5 separate regions of the Homo sapiens genome follow, and all the other regions are linked to region 1. Evidence: promoter capture Hi-C in human tissues and cell types (Jung and others, 2019). All regions are on one chromosome and are shown on one strand. The core of a region is centred on a gene start or on the middle of the fragment in contact, and the rest is flanking DNA. Distances in the headings are between cores, read along the strand shown.

Region 1 (3,983 bases), core at 448-2,947:
TCCAGAATGCCCTGGACCACCTCTTTGATAGGCAATCAGATCCCACCTCCTCCACCCTATTTTTGAAGGCCCTGTGCCAACACCACTTCTTCCATGAATACTTCCTTGATTCCCCCATCCCTAGCTCTATATAAATCTCCCACTCAACACTCACACCTGTTAGTTTACATTCCTCTTGACACTTGTCATTTAGCATCCTAAGTATGTAAACATGTCTCTCTTCACGATTCACAAAGTGGCTTTGGAAGAACTTTAGTACCTTCCCATCTTCTCTGCCATGGAAAGTGTACACAACTGACATTTTCTTTTTTTTTAAGACAGTATCTTGCTATGATGGCCGGGCTGGAATGCTGTGGCTATTCACAGGCACAATCATAGCTCACTGCAGCCTTGAGCTCCCAGGCTCAAGTGATCCTCCCGCCTCAGCCTCCTGAGTAGCTGAGATCACAGGCATGCACTACCACACTCGGCTCACATTTGACATCCTCTAAAGCATATATAAAATGTGAAGAAAACTTTCACAATTTGCATCCCTTTGTAATATGTAACAGAAATAAAATTCTCTTTTAAAATCTATCAACAATAGGCAAGGCACGGTGGCTCACGCCTGTCGTCTCAGCACTTTGTGAGGCCCAGGCGGGCAGATCGTTTGAGCCTAGAAGTTCAAGACCACCCTGGGCAACATAGCGAAACCCCCTTTCTACAAAAAATACAAAAACTAGCTGGGTGTGGTGGTGCACACCTGTAGTCCCAGCTACTTGGAAGGCTGAAATGGGAAGACTGCTTGAGCCCGGGAGGGAGAAGTTGCAGTAAGCCAGGACCACACCACTGCACTCCAGCCTGGGCAACAGAGTGAGACTCTGTCTCAAACAAACAAATAAATGAGGCGGGTGGATCACGAGGTCAGTAGATCGAGACCATCCTGGCTAACACGGTGAAACCCGTCTCTACTAAAAAAAAAAAAAAATACAAAAAATTAGCCAGGCATGGTGGCGGGCGCCTGTAGTCCCAGTTACTCGGGAGGCTGAGGCAGGAGAATGGCGTGAAACCGGGAGGCAGAGCTTGCAGTGAGCCGAGATCGCACCACTGCCCTCCAGCCTGGGCGACAGAGCGAGACTCCGTCTCAATCAATCAATCAATCAATAAAATCTATTAACAATATTTATTGTGCACTTAACAGGAACATGCCCTGTCCAAAAAAAACTTTACAGGGCTTAACTCATTTTATCCTTACCACAATCCTATGAAGTAGGAACTTTTATAAAACGCATTTTATAAACAAGGCACAGAGAGGTTAATTAACTTGCCCTCTGGTCACACAGCTAGGAAGTGGGCAGAGTACAGATTTACACAAGGCATCCGTCTCCTGGCCCCACATACCCAACTGCTGTAAACCCATACCGGCGGCCAAGCAGCCTCAATTTGTGCATGCACCCACTTCCCAGCAAGACAGCAGCTCCCAAGTTCCTCCTGTTTAGAATTTTAGAAGCGGCGGGCCACCAGGCTGCAGTCTCCCTTGGGTCAGGGGTCCTGGTTGCACTCCGTGCTTTGCACAAAGCAGGCTCTCCATTTTTGTTAAATGCACGAATAGTGCTAAGCTGGGAAGTTCTTCCTGAGGTCTAACCTCTAGCTGCTCCCCCACAGAAGAGTGCCTGCGGCCAGTGGCCACCAGGGGTCGCCGCAGCACCCAGCGCTGGAGGGCGGAGCGGGCGGCAGACCCGGAGCAGCATGTGGACTCTCGGGCGCCGCGCAGTAGCCGGCCTCCTGGCGTCACCCAGCCCAGCCCAGGCCCAGACCCTCACCCGGGTCCCGCGGCCGGCAGAGTTGGCCCCACTCTGCGGCCGCCGTGGCCTGCGCACCGACATCGATGCGACCTGCACGCCCCGCCGCGCAGTAAGTATCCGCGCCGGGAACAGCCGCGGGCCGCACGCCGCGGGCCGCACGCCGCACGCCTGCGCAGGGAGGCGCCGCGCACGCCGGGGTCGCTCCGGGTACGCGCGCTGGACTAGCTCACCCCGCTCCTTCTCAGGGCGGCCCGGCGGAAGCGGCCTTGCAACTCCCTTCTCTGGTTCTCCCGGTTGCATTTACACTGGCTTCTGCTTTCCGAAGGAAAAGGGGACATTTTGTCCTGCGGTGCGACTGCGGGTCAAGGCACGGGCGAAGGCAGGGCAGGCTGGTGGAGGGGACCGGTTCCGAGGGGTGTGCGGCTGTCTCCATGCTTGTCACTTCTCTGCGATAACTTGTTTCAGTAATATTAATAGATGGTATCTGCTAGTATATACATACACATAATGTGTGTGTCTGTGTGTATCTGTATATAGCGTGTGTGTTGTGTGTGTGTGTTTGCGCGCACGGGCGCGCGCACACCTAATATTTTCAAGGCTGGATTTTTTTGAACGAAATGCTTTCCTGGAACGAGGTGAAACTTTCAGAGCTGCAGAATAGCTAGAGCAGCAGGGGCCCTGGCTTTTGGAAACTGACCCGACCTTTATTCCAGATTCTGCCCCACTCCGCAGAGCTGTGTGACCTTGGGGGATTCCCCTAACCTCTCTGAGACGTGGCTTTGTTTTCTGTAGGGAGAAGATAAAGGTGACGCCCATTTTGCGGACCTGGTGTGAGGATTAAATGGGAATAACATAGATAAAGTCTTCAGAACTTCAAATTAGTTCCCCTTTCTTCCTTTGGGGGGTACAAAGAAATATCTGACCCAGTTACGCCACGGCTTGAAAGGAGGAAACCCAAAGAATGGCTGTGGGGATGAGGAAGATTCCTCAAGGGGAGGACATGGTATTTAATGAGGGTCTTGAAGATGCCAAGGAAGTGGTAGAGGGTGTTTCACGAGGAGGGAACCGTCTGGGCAAAGGCCAGGAAGGCGGAAGGGGATCCCTTCAGAGTGGCTGGTACGCCGCATGTATTAGGGGAGATGAAAGAGGCAGGCCACGTCCAAGCCATATTTGTGTTGCTCTCCGGAGTTTGTACTTTAGGCTTGAACTTCCCACACGTGTTATTTGGCCCACATTGTGTTTGAAGAAACTTTGGGATTGGTTGCCAGTGCTTAAAAGTTAGGACTTAGAAAATGGATTTCCTGGCAGGACGCGGTGGCTCATGCCCATAATCTCAGCACTTTGGGAGGCCTAGGAAGGTGGATCACCTGAGGTCCGGAGTTCAAGACTAACCTGGCCAACATGGTGAAACCCAGTATCTACTAAAAAATACAAAAAAAAAAAAAAAAGAAGAAGAAGAAGAAGAAAATAAAGAAAAGTTAGCCGGGCGTGGTGTCGCGCGCCTGTAATCCCAGCTACTCCAGAGGCTGCGGCAGGAGAATCGCTTGAGCCCGGGAGGCAGAGGTTGCATTAAGCCAAGATCGCCCAATGCACTCCGGCCTGGGCGACAGAGCAAGACTCCGTCTCAAAAAATAATAATAATAAATAAAAATAAAAAATAAAATGGATTTCCCAGCATCTCTGGAAAAATAGGCAAGTGTGGCCATGATGGTCCTTAGATCTCCTCTAGGAAAGCAGACATTTATTACTTGGCTTCTGTGCACTATCTGAGCTGCCACGTATTGGGCTTCCACCCCTGCCTGTGTGGACAGCATGGGTTGTCAGCAGAGTTGTGTTTTGTTTTGTTTTTTTGAGACAGAGTTTCCCTCTTGTTGCCCAGGCTGGAGTGCAGTGGCTCAGTCTCAGCTCACTGCAACCTCTGCCTCCTGGGTTCAAGTGATTCTCCTGCCTCAGCCTCCCGAGTAGCTGGGATTATCGGCTAATTTTGTATTTTTAGTAGAGACAGATTTCTCCATGTTGGTCAGGCTGGTCTCGAACTCCCAACCTCAGGTGATCCGCCCACCTCGCCCTCCCAAAGTGCTGGAATTACAGGCGTGAGCCACCGCGTCTGGCCATCAGCAGAGTTTTTAATTTAGGAGAATGACAAGAGGTGGTACAGTTTTTTAGATGGTACCTGGTGGCTGTTAAGGGCTATTGACT
Region 2 (3,983 bases), core at 1,032-3,531, 210 kb after region 1:
CTATAGCGTCCCTAACTGTCCAATATTGTACATATGTTACAGCACAGACATATTCTAATCCCAAAAGGGGTCACGTAATGCAGCCCTTCCTTTTGACAGATTAAAAAACTGAAGCCAAAGTGATTATAAATGAAGTTAAAACTATCCCCACTTTATTTTCCCCCCTGCTTTTGTCTGAGTACACTAAATAGCGAGCGTCTTCCCTCAGAGAGTTAAATTTGGGATTCACGTGAGGATGTAGGAAATCGGGAAGGGAATTACAGTGCATTGTAGAGGAAGAACTAGGCTGAAGGCGGCTGGACGAGGAGAGCAGGGCAGAAGAAGGCAGCCAGTGACTGTGGGGCTCTCCCTTGATCTAACCTGAGTCCGCATCATTTGCTCTTGGGAGCACAGGCCACGGTAGCTGGCTGAGTGTGAGTAAGAATCTAGAGGGGTCCATGTGTGTAGAAGGGGTTAGCAACACCTCTGTTAGCTCCATAGATGGATTTCAAGATCCTTGAAGGCAGAGCCTGAACATTTCCCAGCGTTGTGTGCCTGAGGCCAGCATCAGGACTAGCACATGGGCAAGGCATAAATGTTTGTAACTTACATTAGAACTGCCCCTGGCACACCAAGCCATTTCTTGCCTAAACTCATCAGGAAGTTGAAAGTTTTAGAATAACTCAAGTCAGAGATTGGAATGGAAGCACACACTGTAAGCATTGAGTTTCATCTAAAACATTGAAGTGATCTTATCTCACCAGAAATTGCCAATCTCTTATGTAGAATTGTACAGTCTTCAGGATAGATGGTGCAGGGTGTGCAGCAACTTTGACCAGCAAGCTCCAATTTTCTAGCAAGTGGTCTTTTACAGTACTCTTCCAGACTTCAAAGTTTGACTCCCTACAGCTGTGTGGATGACTGCACTAATAATTGCTTTTATTCCCCATCTCACCCTCGTCCCTCTTAGCTTGACCAGGTTTTGACTTGAGGCTGTGTGCCATGTCCAGAAACACTAGTCTTTACATTTGAGCAGTAGAATCTTCAGGCAGAATTAGTATTTTATAGTTTTTGTTTGTTTTTGAGACATAGTCTCCCTCTGTCGCCCAAGCTAGAGTGCAGTGGCACGATCTCGGTTCACTGCAACCTCTGCTTCCTGGGCTCAAGGCACCTTCCCTCCTCAGCCTCCCCAGTAGCTGGGACTACAGGCACACACCACCATGCCTGGGTAATTTTTGTATTTTTTCTGGCAACAGGGTTTACCCATGTTGCCCAAGCTGGTCTCAAACCCCTGGGCTCAAGCAATCTGCCCGTGTTGGCCTCCTAAAATGCTGGGATTACAGGCATGAGCCACCGTGCCTGGCCTATTTTGTAGGCTTTTAAAATGATTTTAAGTGTATGGCATTTTTGTGAGTTAGTAGTTGAGAATAATAGAGTGCTTTGATGAACACAGTAATTTGAAGTCAAGCTTTATGTTGCATTAGTCTCTTTAGGCTCAATATCCTTTTGTTTTCCTTTTTGCAAAGTAATAAGAAAGCTCCTCTTCCTCACGAGTATTTAATTATGACAATATGAAAATAGTTCTCCTTACAAGTCTTACAGTACTTCTCAGTTAAACAAGAGAAGCTTTATTCTGAGATTTGCCCAAAGGCAAGTTGACTTGTCATAATAAGTTTAAGTGTTAGGTTTGCCTCCCCTACTACCAATTTTTAAAAATTTTCTATAAAATACATTTGCATATCACAAATTTTTATTTTTAAAAAACAAACTTTGAATTACATGTTTTCTTGGAATCTTCAAAGTACTCAGTGCATGGTTCGAAGATCATTTAAGTTGACTTATGGATTTAGAGACCCAAGTGGGGCTACCCTTTTATGCTAATTATAGAATTTTAATTCCTGATTTCTCAAAGGATTATATAGACTAGCTAGTTGACCACAGAAAAGAGAAGGAAGATGCTGGGCCCCCTAGCTGGATACCTTTGCTGTTGCATGCCCATTTAGAGGGGGTCTAGCGTGCCACTGTTAACCGAGCCACGTGAAAAGCTTTATTGAGTTTTGACTTAGATACCATATAATCCACCCATTGAAAGTATATAGTTCAGCTGGGCATGGTGGCTCACGCCTGTAAATCCCAGCACATTGGGAGGCCAAGGTGGGCAGGTCACTTGAGCTCAGGAGTTTGAGACCAGCCTGGGCAACATGATGAAACCCTGTCTCTATTAAAAATAAAAAAATTAGCTGGGTGTGGTGGTGGGTGCCGGTAGTCCCAGCTACTTGGGAGGCTGAGGTGGGAGGATCACTTAAGCCCGGGAGCTGGAGGTTGCAGTGAGCCGAGATTGCACTACAGCACTCCAGCCTGGGCGACAATGAGACCCTGTCTCAGGAAAAAAAAAAAAAAAAAAAAAAAGTATGCAATTCAGTGGGCTTTAGTATATTCAGAGTTGTACAGCTGTCATCACAACCAATCAATCTTAGAACATTTTTATCATCCCCAAAAGATACCCCATACCCATTAGCAGTCATTCCCCATTTCTCCCTTTCCCTAAACCCTCTAGTCTTAGATGTTACCTTTTGCTGTCGCTCTTGGTGCTTCCAAACCTCCTTGGCTGGGGAGGGGGAGGTAGCACTGACCATACATGTCAGGGCTGGGCACACGTGCCCTCAGAACCTCAGTATTCCCAACTAAGGCAGTGGCTGAGTCAGCATCCTTTCAGTATTTCACTTTCTTGAGCTCAAAAGATAGAGTAAGTCTATCCAAGGGGATATAGGCATAACCCAGAGGTTAGGAGCAACAGATAATTAACTACTATTGCTCTAAGGCAAAGAATCTGAGAAGCGGAATGAGAGAATCCAATAATAAGCTAAAGGTACTTAATTCAGCAGAGTCAAGGGAAGGCAGCTTCATGTCTGTGCACCTGCCTGTTAAAAAGAGGTCAAGTGCATGAGTTGGATGTTACTTTTATATGCAGCTTAGGAAGTTAGCTACTGTGAAGCTCTCAATTTTTATTCATAAACTTGACTGTTAATGTGAATTCAGTAAGAGCTTTTGTGATTTTCTTTATTTTATCAAGGGGCAAGAACATATTTCCTGCATCTCACAAAATGCCGTTTTAACTTTAGGTTTTCTTTATGATGAATGCAGACCATACTTATCTCAGACAGCTGCAACATAAAGCTTTAAAAGACTGCTTAACATTTTGTATATATTTAGTGTAAATCACTCATTTTGTCTCTGGGGTACAAAATCTCACTTCTATTTTTAAGTATCATATTTTAGCTATGAGATGAGCACAGTAATCTTTGCAGAGTACCATAATAGGAATAGAGAAGTCCGTGGAATCAAAGTTAATTTTCTTCGGGTTGTCTAATGGATCAGTTTATTTCAGTGCTGTAAATAATTAATAACCAAGGAAATTGTAAGCTCATTCAGGATTTTCTAAGGTCACTGTTAGAACTTCTTAAACAGAAGAAAGCTATGTTACTTGGAGGAAAACCTGAAGCATCATTGCTTACAAAATTTGCTTAATGGTTCTTTTTGGCTTTAGAAGTGATAGTACAATAAGAGGCCATGGCAATGTAGTTTAAAAGAAATCCTAATTTACCTGCAGTCTGATAATTTTAGGGGTACAATTTGTTATTTTGGACTAACTTGCTTGTCTAATTTATCTCCATTAGGTCCATAATACATATTGCTGAAGAAATGACATATGTTGTACTTTGTTGGTATTTTATATCTGTGCTCTAAATTTCTGTTTTTAGATGGGCCATGTAGTGTGGTGGCTGAGACCATAGGCTCTGAAAGCAGTTTTCTGAGCTTGCATCCAAGCTTCACACTTGCTTGGTGTGTGGCCTTGGGCTAGTTAATTTCACTACTTTACCTTGGTTTCTCATCTATAAGATGGGCATCATAGCAACACCTACCTTGCAAAGTTTGTGTAGTCGTGAAATGAGCTAATCCAGGTAAGGTACTTGGAAAGTAACTGGTTGATGCATAGTAAGTGC
Region 3 (3,983 bases), core at 446-2,945, 190 kb after region 1:
TGCTAGATTTTTTGCAGTGCCTTCCTGTAGACAGCCTCATTGTCAGCAGAACATGCCTATTAAGGTGTGCTGAATTGTTTTTTTTTCTCCCCAACATTTTATTTGAAAAGTGTTAATTTGGCCAGGCGCAGTGGCTCACACCTGTAATCCTAGCACTTTGGGAGGCCGAGGCGGGTGGATCACCTGAGGTCAGGAGTTCGAGACTAGCCTGGCCTACATGGTGAAACCCTGTCTCTACTAAAATACAACAATTAGCTGGGCATGGTGGTGGGCACCTGTAATCCCAGCTACTTGAGAGGCTGAGGCAGGAGAATCACTTGAACCTGGGAGGCAGAGGTTGCAGTGAGCTGAGATCATGCCCCTGCACTCCAGCCTGGGTGACAAAGCAAGATTCTGTCTCAAAAAAAGAAAGAAAAAGAAAATGTTAATTTTATAGCAAATAAACATATAACCTTCATCTAGTTTTACCAGTTGTTAACATTTTGCCACACTTTCTTTTTCCTCCTCCTTTTTTTTTCTTTCCTTCTACTCCATCACCCTTCCTGTTACCTCTCTCAGTGGGTTTTTTGGTACTATTTAAGTAAGTTGCAGGCAACTCACCATTACCCATAAATATTTCAGAGGTATCTTCCAAAGATAAGAACATTCTCCTACATCAGTCACCGTAATACCATTATAACACTTAAGAAGATTAACATTAATATCCCTTTCATATATTATAGTTCATTTTCAGATTGCTCCAAATGATGTAACTCATTCTTCCCCCACCCTCCACTGGATCAGGGACCTATGGTAGTTCATGCATTGCATTTGGTTTTTATGTAACTTTTAATCTGGAACAGTTTCTCTACCTTTTTTGTTTTTTATGGCATTGACTTTTTTGAAGAGTTCAGGCCAGTCATCTTACAGAATTTCCCATATACAAAATTAACTTTTTAATACATATTTTAAAATAGTCCTATAAACCAGACTAAGTTTTTTGAACAAATTGATAACATACGTGTATGTTTATGTGTTTGTCTCCTAGAGTATGGTCTCCGGCTTGGGAGTCAGATCTTCGTAAAGGAAATGACCCGAACGGGTCTGGCAACTAAAGATGGCAACCTTCACGAAGGAGACATAATTCTCAAGGTGGGTAGATGGGGGCAGAGAACGGTAGTGTGCATACTGCCGTTCATCGCCTGCATGTCCACATTCAGCACCCACACAGTGAGACTTAGATCCAGTGAGAGTCAGTGGTAAGACAGAGGTGGCAAGAGCAGCATAATGAGACGATTTTTATCAGAAAAACCAGACATTGAGGGTCGTAACAGTTTAATGTCAGTTTAGAAAACAAAAACAAAAAAACTCCATGAATATTTTCTTCTTTCCTGTTTAAAGTTTAGATCCCTATTCCCTAAACTAAGGAAAGATGAGAAGGAAAGTTGGTGATATATGAATGCTGAATATTTAATAGGTCTTGTAAACCTCTCCAGTCAGGAAACACGTTCCAGTAGTAAACCAAACCGTTGTCTTGAGCTTGGAAGTTAAATAAATTAGCAGAGTAACTTACACCTGTATTTGGGATCCAGGCATGCAGGATTATATTTAATTTAAACGACAATTCATTTTTATTGAGTCATCCTAAAGCCAATATCTGTTTGAATATCTGAGCAAAGCCTTTACATTTTTAGAAGGGGAAAATATGAATTTTCTACTGTGAATAATTTTATTGCATTTAACATTACCATTTTTTATAAACACAGATCAATGGGACTGTAACTGAGAACATGTCTTTAACGGATGCTCGAAAATTGATAGAAAAGTCAAGAGGAAAACTACAGCTAGTGGTGTTGAGAGACAGCCAGCAGACCCTCATCAACATCCCGTCATTAAATGACAGTGACTCAGAAATAGAAGGTAAAGGAAGAGGAGGCTGTGAGCTTAGCTGGAAGTAAGGAAGGCTGTTGCTTCCCCATTCTTCTATTTAGTGTAGCTATCCAGCTGGAAGTTAAATTTCTAAGGAAAGACCCCTTGAAACCTTAATCTCCAAAGGTCACTGGTTGGTTGTTATTTGCTTATTAAAGTGCCTATTGAAATTAGGTTTCCAATACAAAATTCTGGTGCATTTGCGAACTCTCAGAGAACTATTAATTAGGCAATTGAAAGCAAAACTTGTCAGTAAAAAAATGTGTGTTTGAGTGGTTCAAAGAACTAACCATATCATTTATATATTTGCTAATTGCTTATTGTTTTTTTTTGAGACAGAGTTTCCCTCTGTTGCCCAAGCTGGAGTGCAGTGGTACAATCTTGGCTCACTGCAACCTCTGCCTCCCAGGTTCAAGTGATCCTTCTGCCTCAGCCTCCTGAGTAGCTGGGATTATGGGCGCCTGCCACCACACCTGGCTAATTTTTGTATTTTTAGTAGAGACGGGGTTTCACCATGTTGGCCAGGCTGGTCTTGAACTCCTGACCTCGTGATCTGCCCGTCTTGTCCTCCCAAAGTGCTGGGATTACAGGCGTGAGCCACCAGGCCCAGCCTTAATTGCTCATTCTTTAAAAGTGGCTATTAATATCTCTAATAGAGAAGACAATTTGGAGGATAGCTAAAACAAGTAGATGCTCAAAAAGAATCAAAATGGCTAATATTGTGGCATTCATTAATTAGCAGTCTGCATCACCTCTTCCCTTTTAAAGAGCTATATTCATTATTTGAATATGAATTATACATAGGATAACATTTTAACCTTGTAAAAATTGCCAATAAAAATAGTTAATCACAGTATATTCTACTGAACCATCTACTGTTGCTTTTATGCAGAGAAGTTTAGAAAATATTAAGTTACGAAGTTGTAAAGCAGACTTTTGTTGATTTTTTTTTTTAAAGGAATTTCTTTGTAAAACCTTAAAACTTAATTCACTTTCCAGTGTATCAGAAGTTGTTGATGACTGTTACGGGTGCAGTGCAGGAAAACAAAAGGAGCATGAGAAATAATGCCAGCATGTTAGGGGGTTTGCAGTTTATTTCCTTGCTACTCAGTATGTGGTCCTCATCCCCCAACCCCTGACCCCAATAGCATCTGCATAATCAGGTAACTGGATAGAATTGCAGAATCTCAGTCTCCCCTCAACTGCCCCACAACAACTGCATCCTAACAAGATTTGTATGCACCTTAAAGTTTGAGAAGCATTGGGCTGCTTGGGAAGAATTAGTGTATACATCTATGATCCAATAATAGAATTTTGACTCTTCTGTAGCAGCTTTGATGGAAAATGAGACAAAAGAGAAATACACAATTCTAAATTTGCCTTCCCCTTTATTAATTAATGCCTTTCCCTTAAAACGAGCAAGTTTTTCTCCAGGGGAGGACTATTAGACTAATAGCACATTTCCTGCCTACCTCGTTTCCATTTCCCGTGTTTCCTACCCAGAGAATAGTGCAATTTCTCTGGGTAGGAGAATATTTTAAATATTTTATTTAAAAGTCTTTTCTTATTTTTGAAACTAGATATTTCAGAAATAGAGTCAAACCGATCATTTTCTCCAGAGGAGAGACGTCATCAGTATTCTGATTATGATTATCATTCCTCAAGTGAGAAGCTGAAGGAAAGGCCAAGGTAAGATGACATGAATATTCTCTTGTACATGTCATTGTGAATGTACACACATATGTATTTATGAAACTGTTATCTCTTGAGACATTTACGTATGACATGTGATTCAGTTCCAGAGAGGACACGCCGAGCAGATTGTCCAGGATGGGTGCGACACCCACTCCCTTTAAGTCCACAGGGGATATTGCAGGCACAGTTGTCCCAGAGACCAACAAGGAACCCAGATACCAAGAGGACCCCCCAGGTGAGCCATTAAGACCACTCAGTTTCAACAGTTGTGTTCAGAAGTGTGTGCTCACACAGCCATAACAAAGAGTGAAATCATGTCCTTTGCAGCCACGTGGATGCAGCTGGAGGCCATTATCCTAAGCTAATTAACATGGTAACAG
Region 4 (3,983 bases), core at 1,106-3,605, 170 kb after region 1:
CTGTCAGAGTGAAGGAGTGGGCTGGCCTGAACCCTCCCCGAGTTGCCTGGGTTCTCAGGCTCCTCTGCACCTGGAGCTAGTGAGCCAGCCCATGGGCTGAACCTGGCTGGTGTGTACAGAGCCTGCACATGTCTGCATAGCCTAGGTTGAGGTTTGGACACTTGCTTAGATTCCAAGGTCCTCCTTTGTACCCATTTATTTATATAATAAATAATTTATTATTATTTTTTTGAGACGGAGTTCACTCTTGTTGCCTAGGCTGGAGTGCAATGGTGGGATCTTGGCTCACTGCAGGAGAAGTGATTCTCCTGCCTCAGTCTCCTGGGTAGCTGGGGTTACAGGCACCCGCCAACATGCCCGGATTTTTTGTGTGTGTTTTTAGTAGAGACGAGGTTTCAACATGTTGGCCAGGCTGGTCTTGAACTCCTGGCCTCAGGTGATCCTCCCACCTCAGCCTCCCAAAGTGCTGGGATTATAGGCATGAGCCACGGTGCCCAGCCTGGATTTTTTTTTTTTTTTTTTTTTTTTGAGACAGGGTCTCGCTCTATGGCCCAGGCTGGAATGCAGTGGCCCGATCTCAGGTCACTGCAACCTCCGCCTCCTGGGCTCAGGTGATCCTCCTACCTCAGCCTCCCAAGTATCTGGGACTACAGGTGTGCACAACCATGCCCAGCTAATTTTTCTATTTTTAGTAGAGATGGGGTTTCACCATGTTGGCCAGGCTGGTCTTGAACTTCTGGCTCAAGCGATCTGCCCATCTCAGCCTCCCAAAGTGCTAGGATTACAGGCGTGAGTGACTGCGCCTGGCAAAGTGTAGGATTTGAAACATAAACTTGTATTCATTTTTGATCTCATTTAACTGTCATAACATGAAGAACTCAACTCTTAGGGAAGGACACACATTTCCCAGTGCCTGTCCAGCACCAGCACGAGTGCTTTGTAGAGATTGCCTCATTTCTTGCCGACATTGCCCTTCTGAAGTGTAGATGGTTTTATCGCCACTGTATAAAGAAGGGTATAGTGTATCCAACGCCCCACAGCTAAGTGACAGGACAAGGATCTCACTCCAGATCTTGTGACTTTAAAAATCACTTTCTTGGCTCTGCTTCTCCTTGTTTCCTAGATGGTGGCCATCTCATGGTCCAGATTTATATACATCTCAGCCTCAAATCAAATGGCACACTTTACATTTGCACGCTGTTTGGCCAAGCCCATTGGCATATAACATACACTATGGTAGCAAGAATTGGCCAGAGGCTCCCCAAGACCAGACTTCTGAATTCCTAACCCCAGCTCCCAAGCCCCAGGCATCCCATAAAATCTTTGCTAGATGTTCAGAAACCTAAAATTTGCTTCTCCACCCCTCCCTTCTCCCCAAGTGGTAAAGACAAAGAACAGACGGCAGGGCTCTTTGTTATTCTTTTATCTGCTAAGTTTACAAAAAGGTTAGACAGTGGAACTTTGCTGAGCAAGCATTCTGTCCCTGAGTTGTCTCTGAGCAGCACCAAATGAGTCTTATCTTCCCCTTGTTATCTCCAAGGACGTAAAACATTTTCTTTTCATGCTTTTTAATTTCTGTGTAACATTAGCCATTCAGTTGACCTGAAACATTGCTAGTTTATTTCTAGCTGGCGTGTGTGTGTGTGTATCAGAGGGTCTATACTGTATAAATACTTCTCTAAATATTCTTTTCCATAATGTTGCTCTAAAGTGTCTCATTTACTCAATTCTGTCAACTTAGATGCTGAATCATTTTATGTGCTTAAAAGAAATATCTACTCGGATGCTCTAGTTCCCTGGCAAGGGAGAGAGAGGGAGAGAAAGAAAGCTGTTGAAGTGGTGCAAATCCAAACTGCTTTCTTTTTTGCTCATAAGTAGTGCTTTTCAAAGCGTTTGGCATCCCTGCCATATGGATGTGTCACTGTGTGAGATGACAACAGGATTTGCTGGAAATGTGGGCCACTATTGTATCCGCCTTACGTAACCACATGGAGTGATGGAAATGGGTGAGCAGCCCGGAATGTAGGCGGTGGCCTGGCCCATGCATCTCCAGAGACCATGAAGACTGCTCAAGCCCTACATAGGATGTGGATCCAGGCTGTTAAAAAGTTGAGGAGATGGAAAGGCCGTGTGAGTCCCTCTGCAAGCTCTCCCCTTGTTTTCCCCAACCTTTCTTCATGGGAAGGGGAGGGAAGCAAAACCATTCTCACAGTGAGTCCTTTATCCTCAGATTGATTTGTGCTTCTGGCATCTTTCAGCAACAAATTGTGAGATTGTAGGTTGTAGTCACTGGTGGGTTTTTAAAAATACTTGTATTAATTTTAGCAGATCTATGTGAAACTGATAGCCTCTTACTGGATCTGTGGATCAAAGGCTGCTGTTTTCCATGTGCTAGGAATCTGTAATGGTTTTGCTTCCTGGGTAGAGCTTAACATACTGGCTTTTGTGTTTGTTCATGTTTGAGAATTTCTTGTTTTGGGATAAAACTTTTTGCTTTCTTACACTGCAGAAATCTATATTCTTATTATGTCTAGGCTTCTAACTTAGAAGAAAAAGTGTTTTTCACATGTTCTTTTTTCCTCTTACAGTTTGAACATGTGTGAGTGTTTACTTTGATGGCTTGAGACTTTTATGAAGCATGTCCCTTACGTGGACAGCTTGCGATTAATCTTTGGTTTTAGCTTTGACCTCCATCACTGGGCAGCAGCAGTCTGTGGATACAGAATCTAAAAGCCGCCTGTTCAGGGGGACTTTGGGCAGTGAACACTTCGGTATCTGTTTTGGGGTTGGCTTTTAACATGTTTCTACATTCTTTATGTAAAATATATAGGATTTTTACCTATCTGGCCAAGATTTTTCAAAGGAAAAAAGCTTTATAAAAAGATTAAAAAAAAACACAATAAGTAACTATTTGCCTTAGTTCCTTTCTCTTCTTTTGTCACACAAAAACCTTACTGTTAATGCATTAAGTTTTTTGTTTATGGTAGAAAAGTTAGCTCACTTTTAACTTTCCATGAGGTCTTAAGAATGACCTGTTAGATATAAAGGGGGTTGTCATGAACACTACTTACGTGAAAAGTAAAAGTGATAAGGAAAGATGATGAAAGCACATTGAAGATCCTCCTAATGGATAGAATGTTGACACTTGGATTAAAAAGGTGACTTGGCGTTTTCTGCATACACCTCCCCCCACAACTCCCCAGACCTAACCTGCGTCCCCACTCTGCCCACCGCACCTGCCTTGCTTTACCCTCTTTGCCCCTTTCAAATTACTGGTACCATCCTTCAACTCGCCCTCCTTCCAGTTGAAATTATTATCCCCTCTTCACTTTGCAAAATTCTAACTGCATTGAAAAATTTGCTGTTAAATATACTCGTACCTCTTGGGTATTAGATCCTTCACCAGGAGTCAGTATTCATTTTGGTGTTCACCCACTCATCTCCCTATTTTTTATTTATTTATTTATTTATTTAATTTTTTTATTTCTTTTTGAGACGGAGTCTTGCTCTGTTGCCCAGGCTGGAGTGCAGTGGCGCGATTTCGGCTCACTGCAAGCTCCACCTCCCGGGTTCGAGCCATTCTCCTGCCTCAGCCTCCCGAGTAGCTGGGACTACAGGTGCCTGCCACCACACCTGGCTAATTTTTTGTATTTTTAGTAGAGATGGGGTTTAACCATGTTAGTCAGTATGGTCTTGATCTCCTGACCTCGTGATCCACCCGCCTCGGCCTCCCAAAGTGCTGGGATTACAGGCGCGAGCCATCGCGCCCGGCCTCATCTCCCTATTTTTTAAACTTATGAAATGTTTGGTACCATAAAAGAATTAAATATCTAAATCATGGAGCATAATAATTAAACAAATGCCATGAGCCCATTACACATATCTGCAGACCATCACCAAGACAAAACACGAAGGAAATTTGTGTACCTCCCACCATACTCTGCCTCCTGCCCAGGTCACCTCATCCTGAATGTTATGTTTTT
Region 5 (3,983 bases), core at 486-2,985, 150 kb after region 1:
TCTTAACTTTAGAATGTGAATTTTTTCCTCCTTCAAATACTTTTTCCTATAACCCAGACCTATTTTACTTTCCAGGGACCCTACTATTACTGCCCTAAGGTAATTTGCTAGAAATGGAGTGGTCAAGATGTATTGATTAACGTTTTAGGCATACTTCTGTAGTACTACTTCCGAAGGCTCCTTGCAGAGAAATTTGAAGTGATAAGGAAGGCAAATATTCGAAATGGAAAGATAAGTATAACCAGTGACTATTTCAGCCACTGGTTTAGCAGTTCAAGTGAGCTGGCTGTTTGTAAAGCTTGCTTAGTAAATGAATGTGCTAGAAATATATTGACAGAATTTGGTTTTATCTCTTTTTCTCCAGACTTTTAGTCGGCCAGGGCTAACAATGGATGTCCAAACAGTTTACAGTGGCTGATACACAATGCACAAAGGGCTTCACTGTTTGGAGACTGGAAAATAGAGCCAGAGGGGAGCTTCTTATGGGCATTGACCTAATTCACTCCTTTTGGCAAAAATGCTTGGTTTTAAATCAATGTATGTATTTCTGACCCAAATATCTATAAATATTTCAGCTAGTAGTGTTACAGCTGGAGGAAGGGACCCGTGGTGTTGCTTCGTGTATTTTGATTTGACAATATTCTTTAGAAATAAATTGTCAAGTGAACTAATATTACACAAAAGTTAGGGAAAGTTAAGAGAGGCAGCTGAAATTCCATCAGTTTCCTCCTTAGTCCCTGGAACCTCCCCACAATCAGGAATTTGTTAGTCACCTGGTTTTTAAAGATAAATTTCTCTGTGGGCGTTTCTGCTGAGAAATGTGGGGAAACAGGACTGGGCTAAAAATAAAATTAGTTCAGGCATTGCTAAACTTCTAAGTATCATGTTTGTGATGTACTTTTCCAGGAAACATAAATTGGCAATATTTTTGCTCCTTTTTACTACCACAGAAAGAATATTTGCAGTCAGCATGCACGGCCTGAAAGAATCTCTCTCGCCTATTAATAGAACAGAAGGAACATACACATGTCTATGTGGGGGAAAAACATCTCATTTGGCTTAGTAGTAAGCTCCAAATAACAATTGCATTGTTGTTCTGAATTGTCTTTGAGTGTGATTGGATGATTAAATATAAATGTTGACCTGATTGGATTATATCACAGCAATGAACTGTCCTGAAAAAACAGCTGTAACATACCACTCCAGACTGTTACCAGACTTAGTCGGCTGGCTTTATATTTGTGTTGTCAAAACTGGGATGCTGTCATTTCTGTTTCTCTGTCTCTTTCGTCTGTTCCAATTTGAGATATACTGACTATGTTAGTGTAGTCTGCTACATGGATAGTCCTTTATCTTTCAGCAACATAAGCAACATAAGCTTTTTGACTGAGACGAGCGTAATCAAAAGGAATGCTGGGAAACAGTGAACTGTAAAAAATGTCCTCAATTAGATACAGGCTTCAGTGCATGGGTTTATCCTTTCAGAAGATCGGTGTGTTTTCAGTGAGGGTCTAAACCCACTGGCCTGGATTCCACCTCTTGTTGGATGGGTGGTCAGTTTTAACATTAGGGGGTGTTGATTGTGAGCTCTTGAGAGCAGGGCTGGTTCTTTGCATTCCTAGGTAGGCATGATGTAGAGTAGTTGCTCAGTAAATAGGGGAAGGTGAAAGGAAGAGAAGGGAGAAGGTGAGTCTCAAAAGACTGGAATGTGATAAGCACACGTTTATCACACTGGGGGTGTATTCTCTCCCTTTTCTTAGAGTATTCCTTGCCTCCTGAAAAAAGCACTTTGCAGGAAATATGGAGATCTTCTGAACCTGTGGCTTTGTGTTATTGGACTGAGAAGTCCAAAATGTGCATTAGCGGAGCTTATAGAACTGCTCTGAGAATGTGTTCTTGAGTTCTACAAATATTATGGGGTGCGTTGGGGGCTGGCTCACTCCAGCTCAGTTCCCATGTGTTAAGTGGAACTTCTGATCTGTTGAATGCCTAACCATGACGGAGCCCAGGAGACAAAGTAAGGTGTGGTTTGTTTTGCTGTAAGACCACGTTTGGTTAGCTTTTCTCTAGCAAAGCTGGGGAAGGAGATCACAGGGCTGATGTGGTGGTAGGCCCTTGGTGTAGATCTCACTGACTTTTCCCAGTCAACTAGGAGTAAATGTTAACCCTATTTTATAGGTGGGAAACGGAGGCTCAGAAACATTAAGTAAATTGCCCAGTGTCACACGGCTTGTGTGACAGGGAGGGGATTTGAGCCAAGGTCCATTTGATGAATTTGAAACCTGTAGATTCTGTCAATTCCACCAGTCTCTGCTTTTTAGAATCACAGTGGCAAGAAAATAGGAGAAGCTCAAGGCCCTGTGTTGATTATTAGGAGTTTAAACATCATCGCTGAAAGTGCATAGAAATATTTGTATTCCTAGAGAATCTTAAGTAAAAGTAACATATCAATGTTGTCAAGAGATGTCTTCATTCATCAGAGACCTCTGTGTGTTCATTACTGTATGAGACCCCAAAGACTCTAAGTTGCCTCTAAGACACAGCCTTACAGGGAGGTATTAAGTGATTATGTATACAGCTAGCTAAAACCACAACTTTATTATAGAAATATTAAGAATATGTCTTATCATGTGAGAGTATTCTTTCTTCAAGTCCATAGCCTCCAGTTAGAAATGGCTGTGTTGTCCCATCAACCCCTTCACTCAAAAACTATCATTAATATCAGGAAAAACTTATGGTTACAAACTCCTGGGTTATAGAATTGGAAGGAAAAACTTAGATATGCTGTGTTTGGGAGCTTGCCTTGAGGATTGGAATTCCATTGCAAGTTACCTTGGGGTCAAAGTACATCCCCTAAAACATCAAATACCTCCAAGAGGTTTTAGGCTATCAGACAGCCACACTTTAATGTGGAGTAGACTAGTCAGCTTTCTTCTACTATCTAACTGACACCATACACATTGTTAAAGAGATAATTTTGATTGGGAATGAAGATAGGGAATTTTGAAGCCAGAACATTCTGGTGATGGAGCAGATACTGCCGAGATGTTGGCCTCGGGACAGCCTGGAGGAGGAGGACACTGATAAACAGAGCAACCAGCCCAAGGGGTGGAAAGACCTAGGAAGTCTCCACATACAAATTTTGCTTCTTTCCTGTTTCTCCACTGAACCCTGGGAAGGGTGCTTATTTCTCTCCTCACTGTCTTTCCCCAGGACCCAGAATTGATAGGTTAGTTGAGTTTCTGTGGGCAGTCTAAGGTAGTGTTACTATTTAAAATGTTAGTAACATTTTCAGATTCACTGAGATTCTTGCTGAGTGTGGTGGCATATGCCTGTGGTCCCAACTACTTGGAGACTGAGGCAGGCAGGAGGATCGCTTGAGCCCAGGAGTTGGAGGCTACAGTGAGTTCTGATTGTCCTGTGAATAGGAATAGCCACTGCAGTCCAGCCTGAGCACCACAGTGGAGACTCCACTTTTTTTTTTTTTTTAAGTTTAAAAAAGTTAAAAAAAAAAAAAGACAAAGAAAAAGGAAAGTTGATTTTTGGTTCTAACTCAGTTGTGACAAACGGTGGATATATGGTTCTGACCACATTCTAAATTGGACTTGATGGTGGGCAAGGGAAACTTCCAATGCCTATCCCCTCACTTTAAAAAAACTTCTCCTGGGCCAGGCACGGTGGCTCATGCCTGTAATCCCAGCACTTTGGGAGGCCGAGGTGGACGGATCATGAGGTCAGGAGATCGAGATCATCCTGGCTAACACGGTGAAACCCCGTCTGTACTAAAAATACAAAAAGAAATTAGCCGGGTATGGTGGTGGACGCCTGTAGTCCCAGCTACTTGGGAGGCTGAGGCAGGAGAATGGCATGAACCTGGGAGGTGGAGTTTGCAGTGAGCCAAGATGGCGCCACTGCACTCCAGCCTGGGCAACAGAGCGAGACTCTGTCTCAAAAAACAAACAAACAAACAAACTTCTCCTGTA

The links. The method cuts DNA at HindIII sites, captures the fragments that hold promoters and counts their contacts. A contact is called where the count stands out against the background at its distance.
Region 2: a fragment that was not itself captured here is called in contact with the fragment with the promoter of FXN in region 1 in 2 of the 25 tissues and cell types used here (lymphoblastoid cells and mesenchymal stem cells).
Region 3: a fragment that was not itself captured here is called in contact with the fragment with the promoter of FXN in region 1 in 2 of the 25 tissues and cell types used here (heart right ventricle and stomach).
Region 4: a fragment that was not itself captured here is called in contact with the fragment with the promoter of FXN in region 1 in 1 of the 25 tissues and cell types used here (hippocampus).
Region 5: a contact is called between a fragment that was not itself captured here and the fragment with the promoter of FXN in region 1, in 3 of the 25 tissues and cell types used here (bladder, dorsolateral prefrontal cortex and hippocampus).

The regions. Positions count from the first base shown.
Region 1 is chr9:69,034,055-69,038,037 of GRCh38, forward strand. FXN (frataxin) reads left to right here and starts at 1,698. Exons shown (of 5, transcript NM_000144.5): 1 at 1,698-1,893. The coding sequence starts at 1,729. RefSeq lists silencers at 1,587-2,056, 2,639-2,933 and an enhancer at 2,217-2,266. The HindIII fragment of the contact is 19,714 bases long and covers 1-3,983 here.
Region 2 is chr9:69,241,820-69,245,802 of GRCh38, forward strand. All of the region lies in intron 17 of TJP2 (tight junction protein 2), which reads left to right. Among named protein-coding and RNA genes, the nearest start is that of BANCR, 63 kb to the right of the region's middle. RefSeq lists enhancers at 1-461, 462-962. The HindIII fragment of the contact is 4,818 bases long and covers 1-3,983 here.
Region 3 is chr9:69,224,277-69,228,259 of GRCh38, forward strand. It overlaps TJP2 (tight junction protein 2), which reads left to right. Exons shown (of 23, transcript NM_004817.4): 6 at 1,028-1,131; 7 at 1,746-1,899; 8 at 3,489-3,597; 9 at 3,705-3,838. Among named protein-coding and RNA genes, the nearest start is that of TJP2, 52 kb to the left of the region's middle. The HindIII fragment of the contact is 4,011 bases long and covers 1-3,701 here.
Region 4 is chr9:69,203,104-69,207,086 of GRCh38, forward strand. All of the region lies in intron 1 of TJP2 (tight junction protein 2), which reads left to right. Among named protein-coding and RNA genes, the nearest start is that of TJP2, 31 kb to the left of the region's middle. RefSeq lists a silencer at 1,370-1,664. The HindIII fragment of the contact is 8,597 bases long and covers 1-3,983 here.
Region 5 is chr9:69,186,160-69,190,142 of GRCh38, forward strand. The region is part of intron 1 of TJP2 (tight junction protein 2); the gene reads left to right. Among named protein-coding and RNA genes, the nearest start is that of TJP2, 14 kb to the left of the region's middle. The HindIII fragment of the contact is 3,810 bases long and covers 1-3,640 here.